Regions from separate parts of the Homo sapiens genome. Here all the other regions are linked to region 2. Evidence: promoter capture Hi-C in 16 types of primary human blood cells and fetal thymus (Javierre and others, 2016). All regions are on one chromosome and are shown on one strand. Each heading gives the region's core, a stretch centred on a gene start or on the middle of the fragment in contact. The rest is flanking DNA. Distances are from core to core; before and after follow the strand shown.

Region 1 (3,561 bases), core at 377-2,876, 210 kb after region 2:
AATGAACAAATGTTGGAAAAGAAGAACAAAGTTCATGGGTTCACACTTTGACTTCAAAATTTACTACATAATCAAGACAGTGTGGTATGGTCTGTCATAGGACAGACATATAGACCAGTGGAATAAAATTGAGTCCAGAAATAAACCTGTGTGGTCAATTGGTTTTCAACAAATGTATGAAGACAATTTAATGAGGAAAGAATAGTTTTTTTCAACAAATTGTATTGACACAACTGGATATCTGCATGCAAAATAATGAAGTTGGACCCTTAACTCATACCATGTACAAAAACTAATTCAAAATTGATCAGAGACCCAAATGTAAGACTTAAAACTGTAAAGTGCTCTTCTCCTTCCATCAAAGCTGGTTGGATGTGATTTCCGTGTTCAGATACAATTTATGATACTTGCTTCTTTTGAGCATGCATACATTAGAAGAGCATTTTTTGATCAGTATGTTTACATGTAGTTCTTACAGCTTTATATATATGTGAGCTCAGAAACATATTTCCATCTGAAAAAGCACCCCTAATTTTCTGTCTCCTTACCCTGCTTTACTCTCTCCATAAGTAATGTCACTGGACTGTAAGTTCCTTGAGGGATAGGGCTTTTAGTTTTCAACTCTATCAGCAAAAATATAAAGGTTGATAGAAAATATAAAGCAGGAAAATGCCTATAAATTAAAAGCCTGTAGAAATTTCCATCTTTACATTTTAGCATTTACATATAGATGCCATTTTTTTATATTTTCAGGAAATAAATAACTTTAGCTACCAGCCCACCCTTTGGAAGAGGTACAGATTATTTCCCATATAAGAACTAAACCCCACGGTACTGGCCCATGTCTTGAAGGGTGAAGGGCCAACTAAACTCACATAATCAAATGCTTAAACCTAGCTTCCTTTCTCATGGGAGATACTGAATTTTGTAATAAACCTTACTAAGAATACCTCATACCACTTAAGGTAACTCAGGAAAACTGTATGTTAGTATTCTTCTTTTCTGATTTATTTGTTCACAATCCACTAGAATACTTATGATTGTAGGTTCCATTACCCTTAAAGTCTTGACCTTCTCTTTCCTTGGCTGCTCAGGTCATAGGTGCTGTGATCTAGAGACAAAATGTTCCTTACACTGGCAGATACTTGCAAACTAAGGGGAATGAGCTTCCTTCTGAATGTTTATGAAGGAGAGGCCACTGTGGTAATGTTAAAATTAATACACTTGTTGTATTTAGGAGCTAAAAGTCTCAGATGCTAAATGAGGACTGATTTGCTTTTTATTTGATCATATACCTATACATGTGCAAAAAAAATTAACTACTTGTTTTATAGTTTCTTTGGGGAAAAATAGTTTAAAATTCTTATCAGTTTTAAGAAAAGTTATTTTCCAGCCATAGTTCAATAGCTCACAAATGTAACTGTTACTAAAAAAATAAGTAATAAATAGCCAAAAACTGGTGGCCAAAGATCCAGTAAAAAACATCCTCTTTCACTCATAAATCAACGAAATAGTCATGAAGCACTTCTATGCCTATAAAAATAGATTCAGCAAGTCTTTAAAATATTTTTGCTAGAATTCACATTAATCTTCCCAGAGAATACTCTTATTTATACTGTTGAAACATACATAACTAAAATTGGGAATTTGTTTAGAAGATATATATAACTAAAACTGAGAATTTGTTTAGAAGATGTCTTATGATTTGCATATATGTAAAATAAACAACCATGTGTTCCAAACAGTTATCCCATTTTGACATCCAACTGTATGGAAAACTTACTTATAATTTAATCTTAAACATATATGATGCTTCAATTTTCAAAGTGCTTTCATTTGATAAAGCATTTATTTGATAAAGCAAGGGTATGTAACAAAAATATTCACTATGTAACAAAAATAGTAATTTCCCTAATTTGTGTTTCATTTGAAAAATATGATTTTGATATTAAATGCAGGGTAGTGATTCATAAATAGTTTTTTAAAGGCTGTTTGGTTTAGAAAATGTCATTTAATGTACTCTATTAATAAAATTACAGGCTGTGTCATTCTAGTCATGTCTAACAGCTGGTGACACCTGGAGCTAGCCAGGAAAATGTCTAGTGAAACAGATGGGCTTAGCCCCAGGCCTTGAATGGAACAATTCAGATGCTGTCCAACCCTCCCAGGTGATGGGAATTTCAAAAGGAGATTAACTCCTCAGTATTAAAATACCTTGCCCTGTTCCCATTATTCCCATCTAGAAAAAGCATGCTAGAAAGTAACAACAAAACTTTGACTTTAATAGTTATAAATTATTATGAAAATTATCAGTTAGTTGAACTCGGATAACTCCTCACTCCTTTTCATTCCTAGAGGATAGACAGTGAAGTGCAACTACAGCCCGCAAATGAAAATGAATAATATTAATCCAGCCCCTCAAGGCAGGCGAGTAGCTGCTGGTTTGTAATCTTGAATTAAAGTTTTTTTATACACAGGTTTTTCGGTAGACAAATTCAGGGACATTTTAGCAGAGGAAAAAAAATAAGCAAAATAGTCGAGATATCATTGTTTTACAAAAATAAATCCCATTTTGCCTACAGCAATTTTTTTGTTTGTTTTGGTATATCATTCATGGTTCTTCAAAGGTAAAATCACTTAAGTCCTAACTGCTTTCCTTCAGTGTATGTTGTTAGGCCATTGGAATTTACCACAAACTGCTATTTCTTGTAATTCTCTATCGAATGGCTCCACAATTTCTATTCAAATTCGATCTAGGATGGCTTCTTTTCATAATATCCTGAGTGAATAGTAAACATAGGAAAAGGAACCAGTATAAAAATATACCAGTATGAAAAATAAAAACCAGTATAAAAAAGTTATTTTTTAATGGCAAAGTCAGTACTAACCAAGAGTATTCTTTAGTGTTTAGAGATAGCCAAAGGTTGAATTTAAGTTTCAGTCCTTATGCCAGAGAAATATATTCTCTCAAAATATTTTTTGAAAATCCTCTGCTTGTCTATGGAATGCTTTCAAATAAACCTCTTTCCCCCGTCTCCCTCCCACTCCAGTCATCTGTCTTAGAGCTATTGGAATCCTGGATCATTGTGGGAAATGAAAGGTAAGTAAGTACATGCCTATGATTTGTTGTTGGTAAGTGTGGCGTGGGGTCCAAGGAATGGTTCGTTTAAAAATAAGGCAGACCACGTAACTTTTTTTTTTTTGAGACGGAGTCTCCCTCTGTTGCCCAGGCTGGAGTGCAATGGCGCGATCTCGGCTCACTGCAACCTCTGCCTCACGAGTACAAGCAATTCTCCTGCCTCAGCCTTCCGAGTAGCTGGAACTATAGGTGTGCCACCACACTCGGTTAATTTTGTATTTTTAGTAGAGATGGGGTTTCATCATGGCCAGGCTGGTCTTGAACTCCTGACCTCGTGATCCACCTGCCTCAGCCTCCCAAAGTGCTGGGATTACAGGCATGAGCCACCGTGCCTGGCCGATCACATAACTTCTTTTTTTTTAATTTAATTTTATTTTATTATTATTATACTTTAAGTTTTAGGGTACATGTGCACAATGTGC
Region 2 (3,413 bases), core at 532-3,031:
TCTCTCTCCTTCCATTCTCTTCCCTTCCCATATAAAGGCTCCCTCTCATCAGCCCCTTTCTATTTAAGAGTGAAAACACTTCTCGGTTACTCAGATGTGGACTCTGCCCCTAGTTGCTTTTTCTGACCCTACCCACACCTGTGCTAATAGTCCCTTTGTTAAATCCTGTTCACCTGCCCCAATTTGAGCATGCTGTTTCCTGCCACCACCCTGAGCAGCACAGCAAGTTTAAGATCCTTGGACATGTCTGGGGAAAGAAATCCAAGGAGAAGAATCAGATTTTCTGCTAATCATTCTGATTTGAACATTGAAAGAAATATGAGCTTTTTTTTTTCATACTGAGCTAGCGAAGCAGGGCACGAGTTAAGAGTATTTGCATACACATCTATTCCTCTTATCAAGCTTGAGAATGCCTAGAGGGTAATCTTTTAAATGAATATTAATATGATATTAACCAGCACATGGTAGATGTTCAAGAAATGTGTATTGACCATAACTGAATTGTAAGACCTCTCTCCAAGCCTCAATTTCTTCACCTGTACAGCCCCCATCCAGATTGAAATCTCACCTACTCGGGCTAAGTATATGAAAAACAAAGGCAGTGCAGGGGTAATTGAACTATTCATTAGATAAATGCTTTTATGTCACTTTTATTGTTTTCTAGGACACAGAGTAATACCTACCTTGGTTAACAAAAGACCAAAGGAGGTGATGCCAAATGCGGTTAGAAGTGCTTTTAATCACTTTGGGAGGCCGAGGCGGGTGGATCATGAGGTCAGGAGATCGAGACCATCCTGGCTAACAAGGTGAAACCCCGTCTCTACTAAAAATACAAAAAAAATTAGCCGGGCGCGGTGGCGGGCGCCTGTAGTCCCAGCTACTCGGGAGGCTGAGGCAGGAGAATGGCGTGAACCCGGGAAGCGGAGCTTGCAGTGAGCCGAGATTGCGCCACTGCAGTCCGCAGTCCCACCTGGGCGACAGAGCGAGACTCCGTCTCAAAAAAAAAAAGAAGTGCTTTTAATCAAATAGTTCAAACGACACATAATTAACATTGTTTTAAAGCAAATGGACACTTTAAAGTGGTGCTCCTTCCTCTTAAAGCCCCAACCAGTGCTGGATTTAACAGCAGAGCCATACAGCCAAGACATATGCTGCTACGGTCAACACTCAACCCTAAGTTTGACACCAAAAGATGGCCGCCATTTATTATTGTGACAAAAGGCCAGATTACAAAACGCTGTGTACGGCCTGATCCCAGTTTTACAAAATACTCATACCCATCTATCTACGACGGGGCGCGGGGAAAGGGGAGTCGTTTTAGGAAGTGCTGCTTATTGCTGCCTGGTGTGGGAAATTATGAGTCTTATTTTCTGTTTATTCTTTTTACAAGAACATTTTTATAAATGAATGAATGAATGCTTTCCATGGGTGGATGAGGATCCGGCCTGCCAGGGTGAGGATCCTCTGGAACCAAGAGGGGCCGGGGCAGTAGAACGACAGGTGGCGGGGCTTTGGGCGGCTCCCTCCAGCCCAGGGAGACGCGAGTGCCAGGCCGGGCGCGCGCTTCACTTCCGGGAAGAGGAAAGAGGGAGGGGAGGGGAGAGGAAAAGAAGGGGCAGGAGAGAGAGGCCGGGAGGTTGGGAAAGGGAGGAGGAAAGCATGGAAAAGGGGCGCGGGAAAACGGGGAGGGCGCAGAGGGGCACGGCCCTCACTGCCCCGGCCGGGGCGAGAGCGGCTCCGCCCCTCGAGCGCCGGGTAGGCCGGGGCCGGCGGGGCCCGGAAGGCGACGGGAAGGAGCCGAGCTTGGGTTATGGCGGCGCCGGGCGCGCTGCTGGTGATGGGCGTGAGCGGCTCGGGGAAGTAGGTCCGGGAGAGGGCGGGGGGCGCCCGGGACAAGTGTTGCGGGCGCGGCGGAGGCCGGACGCGTCGCCGTCCCTGCCGGTGGACTGGGGTCTTGGGGACCCCCCACCCTTCCCTTTGCAGATGAAGAAACCGAGGCCCGCGGCTGCCGCGCCCTCTCCCCGCCCTCCAGCCTGCTCGCGGGGCGCCCATCCTGGGACCGCATCCGAGCTCCGGGTTCCCGCTCTAAGACGGGGAGGCTGCGGCGACCGCAGGCTCAGGGAGGAAGCCGCTCCTGAACAGGCGGCTGCGGGGCCGCGCAGGTGGAGGCCTAGCGAGCGGCGCGGGGCTAGGTTTCGGGGCGCCTTGTCGGGGCCAGGCGGGAGGGCGCACGGCCTCTAGCGAGAGGACGCAAACCACGGCCCAGGCTCTCACAGACCTTTGGCCATCTGGACACACAGCGGCCTCCTCCTATGAGGCCCTGGACTTCTCCGATTCAATTTTGGAAAGTGAATCGTTTTCCCCTTCCTTTCATCAGCTTAACCTGGAAGGAGACAGCGTTAATATGGAGGGTGGCTCCTGAGGGTTTGGAAAGAAAGAAGAGAATTGTGGAAACCACAGAGGTAGCCCAGTGTGCTAACCTGGAGACTGAGGAGTTAACATTTGGCTTCCTGTTTAAACCAAAGTCTAACTGTGCCCTTTATCAGAAAAGACAGCTGCTGTACCATTCGACCACAGGCAGCAAAGGACAGAACTTGATCAGCTAAAACATCATAACCTTCAAGGGCCTATAGGACCCTTCTAGAATTTTCTGAATCAGGAACGGCCCATGTTGTGGCCTGTGTAGTCAGGTGTATATTAAAGATTTACTCCAGGTAGATGGGTTTTGCTTTCCAAAATTATTGTAGGGTTCTCAGCCACAAAGATAAAAAGAAATCTTGAACTGCAATTGAAATAAAACATGGAGCCCCCAAATCCCTAGCTGCCATATGATTTGAATCAGTTGGAGAATGTAAAATCATTGCCATGGTGTGATGTAACAGGAGTGAAGAGCCCTAGGTCTTGGTTCTGTTGCTGTCTGGCTGTGTGAGCCTGGGCAGTTCATGTACCCCCTCTGAGTCTTGAATCAGATGAGGGAGGCCTAATCCCTATGATGTATAGCTTGTGATATTCATGTACTCAGTAATTATTGAGCTCAATCCTTACTCTATGTCATTGTCATATAGCGAACAGGACAGATAAAATCCCTGCCCTCAAAGGATTTACATTCTGGTATGGGAGACAGAGTAAATGAATATATGTAGTGTGTGAGTTGGTGATAGATGCTCTGGAGTAAGGGGAACAAAGAGTGCCAGGCAGAGTGGTCAGGGATGTCTCCTCTGGGGGAGTGGCGTTTCAGCAAAGACCTGCAAGACTTGAGGAACCTGCCATGTGGATAGCTGAGGAAAGGGCAGGACAGGCAGAGGGAATGGCAGGTGCAATGGTTCTGAGGCTTAGCTTCTTTTGTTTTTTTTTTGTTTTGTTTTGTTTGAGGCGGAGCTTCACTCCTGTTGCCCAGGCTGGAGTGCAGTGGT
Region 3 (3,329 bases), core at 373-2,872, 170 kb after region 2:
ATCCTTTTAAGTTGGTATTTAAATATAGATACAATTTGGATAGGCAGAAATAGAACTGCAGGAAGAGCCACATTATGTTAATGTTATAATATTAAGAATAGATATACTATGGGATACTAAGGAAAGTCATTCTGACAAAAAGTGAATTTTAAACATTACAAGAGAAAGATGTGGAAAAAACACAGGCTTTGGGAGATCACAGAAATTGATAATTTAAATTCCTATTCCACCCATGCTAGCTGTGACTTTGAACAAGTTATATTAACTCCTGTGAATCTCAGAACATTTAAAAAGGACATTGGAATATCAACTGTACAAGGTAGTTTTAAGGACTTAAAGTTGTAATATGTATGAAGTACCTAGCACAGTTCCTGGCATAAGAGCAGTACCAAATGAATTAGAATTACTCTCCCATGTTGGAGAATAGTAGAAAATAAGATTGCTTAGTTAGGGCAGCATAAGGTTCCAGACACTTCCTAAAATTTAAGGCTATAGGGCAGAAAAAAGAGGAATGCTAATATTAAATAAAAGTAATTTTTAAGATATAAACTGGAATATTAGAAGAATGAGAACCTAGAATCAATGTGTCTGACTAAGCCATTGTAATCTCAGACAGCATATGGGCACCTGGACCAAAATGTAGCAGCGCAGAAAATAAAGAAGAGACTGATCAAGTTTTGGAACACTGACAATATGAAGTGTGAAAGAATCAAAGATAAGGTTTTTGACCTTAGATAACAGGGAGAATGGTAGCACAAGACTAACACATATCAGAAAAGAGAAAGAAAATGTGATTCAAAATTCTCTAAACATATCTTTATTCTCTATCAAAGACTGCTATAACTATAGCTGACAATCTACTTAATCAGTAAATGTATAGGTAAAAGAGAGAGGGAGACAGAGACAGAGACTGGGCCTATAAGACAGGCTCCAGGCAATAAAATGCAAATAAAAGCATACTTTTAAAAAAGTACCTTGTTTAAGTTTGCGAATGGGAAGTTCCTTATTATTTTCTTTTTATTTATGGGAGTAGGAGGAAAGGAAGAAAAAGAGGAAATAGCAGGCACTAAAATGCCTACAGAATTCAAGAAGATACTTACATGTGTCCAAGATGGAGTACTTCAGATCCCCTTCCTCTTGACTTCCTCATTGCCTCCTACTCCCCATCTAGTAGTAAAACATTTTTTCTTCTATTTAAGCAAACCTATAGCTCAATCAGTTAAAGAGTATGAAGAACCAATGAAAAACCTAAAGGACAGTAAATATTTTGGTACTAACATTTTTTAAAAATTAATTTGTAAGTCTAAGTACCATTACAATTTTACTCATTTAAATCCAAACAAAATAAATTCCAAATGAAGAGTTAGTCTTCAATTCTCATAGGCAACATGGAAATATAGTTACTATAAAACAAAAGAGATCACCATTCTGAAGACATCTAACACTTGCAGCCAACTGATTGGACTTAATAGCAGTGGTGCATAGTGGTCCCCTAACCCATTAGATTTTCAAAGTGTAGACTACATATCTTTCAGTAATTTGGAAGGCAAGATTATTTTCCCAGAAATCTTACAGTAGTCTTATTGAACATAATTATTCTAAAGGTTGTCAGAGTTCTACAAAAATGACATATATAATTCACATTCATTACCACATTCAGTTCATCTCAGCTAATGTATTTTTATGTCTTCTGAGTGCTGTTTGCATTTACTAAGTCTGTATTTTTGTTGTATGCTTTATCACACCTCCAAGCAATAAAAATGGTTCATGAGTCACAAAAGAATTAAAAGTAGTAATGAAAATAGAACCGTAAATAATGCAACTTATAAAAACACAATAAATTTTGAAATTAACAGGACTCCAATACAGTGAATATAGAATATAAACGTGTATGTGTTAGGATGAGAGTGATGTCACAAAAGGAGCAGAAAAGGAAAGTTATAAACAGAAAATTAAGATAATGAATATTTAAAATTTTCATTTGAGTCATCCATCTATTTGCTCCTAGCTACCTGTCATGAAATCTGGTCAGAAGACTGGGTGTGGTGGCTCATGCCTACAATCCCAGCACTTTGGGAAGCTGAGGTATGTGGACTGCTTGAGACCAGGAGTTCAAGACCAGCCTGGGCAACATGGCAAAACCCCATCTCTACTAAAAATACAAAAAATTAGCCAGCCATGGTGGAGTGTGCCTGTAGTCCCAGCTACTTGGGAGGCTGAGGCGGGAGAATCATCTGAGCCTGGGAGTCAAGGCTGCAGTTAGCCATGATCACACCACTGCATTCCAGCTTGGGCGATGGGAGTAAGACCCCATCTCAAAAAATATATGAAAATTAAAAAAGAGAGAGAAAGAAACTTGGTGAGACCAGTGGCCTGAAGATATCACAGTTTTTGTTTCACTTTCAAACAAAGCCAAGGGACCTGTAGGAGTCTTTCCAGAACAACTACTAAGTAATGCTTTCCAGCATAAAAGTGATTAATTTTGTTGCTAAAGAGCCAAAAATACAATGGATTTATTTGAATTTACACTCCTTATAAGGAAACCAGGTAGTCAAACTACTGCCAAGGGATTTATTATACCAGCCACACAGTTAATGATAAATATTACACTCACAAACAAACAAAACCAGAACAAGCTATTGGAAAAAAACCTTTATCAAATGAACTGAAGGATGTCACGTAAGAGAGAACTTGCTATTGTGCACATACTAACAGACATGTCACTTCAGAGTGAGAAAAATACCAGTGACGTGTAGAGTTTGAATCAATACAGTAACAGAAGAAATACACAATAAAATTTGGTCTGTTAATCACTGAAACCCTTAAGAAGAGATTTTTCTACTTATTTTTTGAGTCATGACTTTTAAAAAAAGGTACACTGGAATCAATAGTATCAGTGCATCATGCATAAAGCAGATTATACCTGAAAAACATCTACACAGAGATTTATTCCTAGGCAACAGCTGTTGGTGAACAATATGTTTCTTGATCTTGATTTAATCGTTTTAAAAAACAGTGGCTGGGTGTGGTGGCTCGCGCCTGTAATCCCAGCACTTTGGTAGGTGGAGGTGGGGAGGGGAGGATCATCTGAGGTCAGGAGTTCGAGACCAGCCTGGCCTGTAAAATCCCACCTCCACTAAAAAACAATACAAAAAACTAGCCGGGCGTGGTGGCACATGCCTGTAATCCCAGCTACTCAGGAGGCTGAGGTAGGAGAATCGCTTGAATCCGGGAGGCGGAGGTCACAGTGAGCCGAGATTGTGCCACTGCACTCCAGTCTGGGCGACAAGAGCGAGACTCCATCTCAAAAAAAAAAAAAAAAAAAAAAA

Evidence for each region. The method cuts DNA at HindIII sites, captures the fragments that hold promoters and counts their contacts. A CHiCAGO score of 5 or more calls a contact.
Region 1: a contact is called between a fragment that was not itself captured here and the fragment with the promoter of IDNK in region 2, in 1 of 17 cell types (non-activated CD4 T cells). The highest score is 5.8, in non-activated CD4 T cells.
Region 3: a contact is called between a fragment that was not itself captured here and the fragment with the promoter of IDNK in region 2, in 2 of 17 cell types (activated CD4 T cells and naive CD8 T cells). The highest score is 6.4, in activated CD4 T cells.

Annotation. Positions count from the first base shown.
Region 1 is chr9:83,828,513-83,832,073 of GRCh38, forward strand. LOC101927552 (a long non-coding RNA gene) reads left to right here. Exons shown (of 6, transcript XR_001746793.2): 3 at 2,356-2,441; 4 at 3,051-3,100. Among named protein-coding and RNA genes, the nearest start is that of GKAP1, 13 kb to the left of the region's middle. The HindIII fragment of the contact is 4,857 bases long and covers 1-3,561 here.
Region 2 is chr9:83,621,362-83,624,774 of GRCh38, forward strand. IDNK (IDNK gluconokinase) reads left to right here and starts at 1,782. Exons shown (of 5, transcript NM_001001551.4): 1 at 1,782-1,860. The coding sequence starts at 1,811. RefSeq lists a silencer at 1,477-2,006 and enhancers at 2,187-2,316, 2,337-2,386. The HindIII fragment of the contact is 10,566 bases long and covers 401-3,413 here.
Region 3 is chr9:83,791,851-83,795,179 of GRCh38, forward strand. The region is part of intron 4 of GKAP1 (G kinase anchoring protein 1); the gene reads right to left. Among named protein-coding and RNA genes, the nearest start is that of GKAP1, 24 kb to the right of the region's middle. The HindIII fragment of the contact is 5,208 bases long and covers 1-3,329 here.